2 separate regions of the Homo sapiens genome follow, and region 1 is linked to region 2. The links are contacts of gene promoters, found by promoter capture Hi-C in human tissues and cell types (Jung and others, 2019). All regions are on one chromosome and are shown on one strand. Each heading gives the region's core, a stretch centred on a gene start or on the middle of the fragment in contact. The rest is flanking DNA. Distances are from core to core; before and after follow the strand shown.

Region 1 (2,700 bases), core at 18-2,517, 89 kb before region 2:
GACTGGTCTAGGATGGCCTCACTCACATGTCTGGTGGTTGGCTGGCTGATGGCTGGGTGACATGGGAGACTGGGACATGTGTCTCATCAAGCATCAAGTTACCCTGGTGTTATTTACATGGCAGGGTCAGGTTTCCAAAAGAGAGACCAGAAGTTTGAAGCATACATTCAGAAATAGTATGATGACACTTCTGCTGCATTCTATTGGCCAAAGCAAACCATAAGGCCAGTCTAGATTCAGTGTGTGAGGAAACAGACTTTCTTGATGGAAGGATTGAAAAGTCACATTTCAAAAAGTATGGATACAGGGAGGCAGGGGAAGCATAGGGTCTTTTTTTTTTTTTTTTTGAGACTGAGTCTTGCTCTGTTGCCCAGGTTGGAGTGCAGTGGAGCGATCTCAGCTCACTGCAAGCTCCGCCTCCCGGGTTCTCACCATTCTCCTGCCTCAGCCTCCAGCGTAGCTGGGACTACAGGTGCTCGCCACCACGCCTGGCTATTTTTTTTTTGTATTTTTAGTAGAGATGGGGTTTCACTGTGTTAGCCAGGAATGTCTGGATCTCCTGACCTTTTTTTGTATTTTTAGTAGAGATGGGGTTTCACTGTGTTAGCCAGGAATGTCTGGATCTCCTGACCTTCTGATCCGCCCACCTCAGCCTCCCAAAGTGCTGGGATTACAGGCGTGAGCCACAGCACCCGGCCAGGGTCCATTTTTACAGTTAATGTATCACAGCTCTGTCAAGAAATTTTTCATAGAAAAAGAAGTAAGGCAAAGAACCAATGTCCATGCCATTCATTGATTTCATTATGGGACCTACAGTGGATTGAACTGTGTTCTTCAAAAAGATATGTTGAAGTCCTAACTCCGGTACCTTTGAAGAGGACCTTATTTAAAAATAGGGTCTTTGCATGTGTAATTAAATTAAGATAAGGTCAGACTGGATTAGGGAGGACCCTAAACTCAATGATTGGTGTCTCTATAAGGAGAGAAAGATTTGAAAACTCTTGGATACAGAGGAAAGAAGGACCTGTGAAAATGAAGACAGAGATTGAAGTGGTGCAGTTACACGCCAAGGAATGACAAGGATTGCTGGGAGCTACCAGAGGCAAAGAATGATCCTCTCCAGAGCCTTCTGAGAGTGCCCTGCTGAGACCTTGGGCTTCTAGCTTCTAGAACCATAAGATAACAAATGAATATGTTTCTGTTGTTTTAAATCACTAATTTTGTGGCACTTTCTTATAGCAGCTCTAGAAAGCTAATATAGACCCTATCAGACAGAAGTTGCTGGCATTATAGAGAAATGAATGTTCAGCTTTGACCCTAGCTGGGGGACAATTGCTTGTGAGTTAGGCATCTTGTCTTGCTGTTGGTGATTTATGCTCTCTGCCAGATTCATATATTCATGTCTCCAAGTCAGAACACATAGGCCCAGGGATTAAGAGTTGGAGATGGGAGCATCACCACTCATAATTATACTTCAATAACCATTCTCAAAATGCTGTCTTTCTCTAACCAAGATTCTTTTACTACCAAAGTATTTAGCATCTTAGTGTTCAAAGTAAAACAAAAACAAAACAAAACAACAAAACCAAAAACAAAGTGAGAGATATTTTCACTAGGTGCCTGTAATGATGATCCCATTACATTGGAAATTGGAAACTGGTCATGTCACATTTCTCATGCCATGTGCAGAAACGGAAAAAAGATGTCCTGCTGTTATCTAGGATAATTAATCTTTTTAAAAAATTAATTTTTAAGTTGACTAATATAAATGGTATAGATTTTTTAGTGTACATGTTTTGATATATGAATACACTGTAGAATGGTTAAATTGAGCCAATTAACATATCAATTACCTCAAATACTTACACATTTTTTCTGTGGTGAGAAAGCATAATCTACTCTTAGCAATTTTCAAATGTATAATACATTGTTATTAACTATGGTCATCGTATTGTACAGTAAATCTTCTGAGCTGATTCTTCCTGTCTAACTGGAGGAAACTTTTGTGCCTTTTGATCAACGTCTCCCCAATCTCCCTACTCGCCCAGCACCCCAACCCCCAGCCCCAGCTACTGGTAACTACTTTTTTTTTTTTTTTTTTTTTTTTTTTGTTGAAACGGAGTCTGGCTCCGTCGCCCAGGCTGGAGTGCAGTGGCGCGATCTCGGCTCACTGCAAGCTCCGCCTCCCGGGTTCATGCCATTCTCCTGCCTCAGCCTCCCGAGTAGCTGGGACTACAGGCGCCCGCCACCACGACCGGCTAATTTTTTGTATTTTTAGTAGAGGCGGGGTTTCACTGTGTTAGCCAGGATGGTCTGGATCTCCTGACCTCGTGATCCGCCCACCTCGGCCTCTCAAAGTGCTGGGATTACAGGCGTGAGCCACCGCGCCTGGCCGCAGCTACTGGTAACTTCTATTCTACTCTCTGCTTCTATAAGTTTGACTTTTTAAAGATTCCACATATTTCTGAAATCATGCAATATTTGTCCTTCTGTGTCTGGCTTGTTTTACTTCACATAATGTTTTCCAGGTTTCTCCATATTGTCACAAATGAAAGGATTTCCTTCTTTATAAGGGCTGAATATATCCCACATTTTCTTTATCCATTAGGATGGTTAACCTTGACTACGACTGGAGAAAAGTGCTTTTCTTCGCTCTCAATGGTTCATTTCACATGGAGGGAGCTCTTTTAGAGTAATAAT
Region 2 (2,700 bases), core at 146-2,645:
TCTGTGAAGTAGGAATTGTGTCGGTTTTGTTCAACTTACATTCCCACTGCCTAGCACAATCTCTGGTTCAATAAATATTGGCTGAATGACAGAATCCAAGTGTGAGTGTGTAACAACTCGGCTGAGAAAGCATAGATTATTTCGTGGGGTAAATAAATACTTGGATTACAATTTATTCCAACTTTCCCTTTTTGAGTTTAGAAAAATTTCCTTCTGCTTAACATTGCTCCTTCACCTAGAATCCCACTCCTTCCTTTTCTGCCTACTCAACTTCAAGACCCAGCTCTAAGGTTCTAGCCTCTGTGAAGTTCTTTTGGTGCCCACAGTTTAGACCCTTTCATGGGACTTCCATTGTGTCTGTGATTTTTCCATTTGCTTGGTTTCTCTCTGCACTTGGCTATGGGCCATGAGGGTCCAGACTGGGTCTAGTTTGCCCTGTGCCCCCAGCACCTAGCCTAGGGCTGGAGAGAGAGCTTGGAAGATAGCTGGAGACATTACTTGCAGACAAAGAGAGAGGGCACAGAGCCTCGAAAGCTCCAACTAGGGAGGCAGAGGGGTTTGAGAAGGAGTGAAATGGAGGCAGGCAGCTCTAAGGAGCATCCCCTAGTGTCCAGCCTAATTCAGATTTGAGGATCTTTTTTGGGATGGCTGGGGGCTGGGGTGTCAGATGTGATCACAACTTCAGCTTCGCATTCAAGCTTTCCAGAGTGCTCCCTCCCTCAACCAGCCCCCTTCTTTTCCCAGTCCTGCCTTCCTTTCTTCCTTCCCTTCTCTGTTGTGGCTCTGTGAACTGGATGTAAGAGGGAAAAGGAGATCTGCAGGGTTGGCAAGAGGAGGTCCTCGCCTTCTGACTGGTGTCTAGGAGGGGCTGCGTGTTGGGGAAGGGGCTGTGCTTTGGGGTGAGCAGGGGCTCTAGGTGTATTCAGGGGACCAGGATGTGAAGGAGTTCCGACCAGGTGGTGTGAAGCTGTGATGAAGTTGTAGGCTGTGGGGGTGAAGGTGTGAGGGGAGCTGTTTGGGGGCTGAGGGAGTACTATGAGAGGCACGGTGTGGACGTTTGAGAAGGTAGTGTGGAGCTCGTTGGGGGGACTCTATTAGTGTTCTGGGGTACAGTGAGAAATAGCTTGTGGGGGGGGCTGAGGGAGGCACCCACCTCGTGTCCCGGCTCCGCGAATGCGAGGGGGCTCGCAGCTGAGGTTGCCCACACTGCTGCTGTTGAGGAGAGGCGCCCCCGGGCGGCACAGGGAAGCCCCCGGCCCGGGTCCGGTTCCCTGCACGCTCCGGTTCAGCTTTAGCAGCTCCATGGCCCCCGCCGAGCCCGCCGCCTTACTCAGCTCGACCCGGCGGGCTCCCAACGCGGCTCCACCTGCTCACGCTGCGATTCCGGCTCAGGCTCCCGCCGCCCTCCTCTCCCTGCCCCCTGCCCCGCCTGGTCCCCGCCCCCAGCCCAGGCGCCTGCCCTCCACTCTCCCGCGGCTCGCCCCGCCTGGGTTCCCGTCCCTCCGCCAGCCTCTGTCCCGCCAGGTGACTGTGCACCCCCTCCCTGGCTCGGGAGTTCTGCCCCTCCCTGTGCGACTGTCCTCCAGGCTCGCCCCCTCCCTAGATGTGTCCCGTCTCCTCTTAGAGATTTCTCTCCTGCCCACCTCTCTTTATCACCCGCCCCCACCCCCGATTCCCAGGAATGAGAGAGAGAGAGAGAGAGAGAGAGAGAGAGAGAGAGAGAGAGAGAGATTGAAGACAAGAGTATTGGCAGCGTAGGGGGAGGTTTCGGGGAAGGGAGGGTAGGAGGGGTTGGGTAGAGACGGCTGCCACGGATCCAGCATCTTTCTCTGGTGTATCAGGGAACGTGGAGGTGGCGTTGGAGACCAGGTCTGCGTGCGTCACCTGCTGAGGCGCGGATGCTTTAGTCTGAGCCTAGAGCCGCATTTACCGTACTGTGTTGCAGTGGCCGCAGTGACCGTGACACTATTGCTACCGTAGTTCCCTGCAGCTCCTCGCTGCGGGCCTGGGGTAGCTCCTGCATCTGTCTCCGCACCCTCCATCTCCTGTCTGAGGCTTAACACTCAGGCTTGCACTTAAGGGTCCCAAGGAGCCCTCCACAGCTGGGCGGGAGTGGGGGTGGGGCCGGGGCCGAGATTTGGCTCCAGGGAAGCCTTGCCAGGGAAAAGGGCTCCCGGGAGGAAGCTTCTGACTTGAGTGTTGAGGGCAGTTGGGGGTGGTGGCAAGCACTGACAAGGATAAACCAGAGTAAGGTGAGGATGGGATATAATTCTAACGCCGGCCCAGCGCAGGCAAAAGAGAAGGAGAAGGTTGGCTTTCTCCACCGTCTCCAGGCAGCGCCCACGCCCACCCGACACGCTAACGCTCCCTGTTTGCTCTCAGTGCAGGCAGAGCTGCCTGTGTAGGGTGTCAGGTTCCCACGAGAGGGGGCTAGAAGGGGACTGGGTCACTGCGGTGCAGCGGGAACAGGGCTGAAGGGTGCAGGACTGAACTGGGTTCAGCTTCTCGGGGCAGGATTTGCCTCTTCTACTATTTCAGCCCTGCTCCCTATGCATTCTCCTATCCATTCCTTTTCTTCCCCAGATTCCTATCTCCAGATTCCTATCTCCAGATTCCTATCCATTCTTCAGATTCCGGATGAACTCCAATACGATGTGAAATTCTTCTGACCCCCAGCAGTAGCTGTAAGAGGTTGGGGGC

The links. The method cuts DNA at HindIII sites, captures the fragments that hold promoters and counts their contacts. A contact is called where the count stands out against the background at its distance.
Region 1: a fragment that was not itself captured here is called in contact with the fragment with the promoter of CCKBR in region 2 in 5 of the 25 tissues and cell types used here (H1 embryonic stem cells, hippocampus, neural progenitor cells and 2 more).

The regions. Positions count from the first base shown.
Region 1 is chr11:6,347,674-6,350,373 of GRCh38, reverse strand. No RefSeq gene overlaps it. Among named protein-coding and RNA genes, the nearest start is that of CAVIN3, 29 kb to the right of the region's middle. The HindIII fragment of the contact is 9,857 bases long and covers 1-2,700 here.
Region 2 is chr11:6,258,533-6,261,232 of GRCh38, reverse strand. It overlaps CCKBR (cholecystokinin B receptor), which reads right to left and starts at 1,395. Exons shown (of 5, transcript NM_176875.4): 1 at 1,154-1,395. The coding sequence starts at 1,304. The HindIII fragment of the contact is 2,957 bases long and covers 255-2,700 here.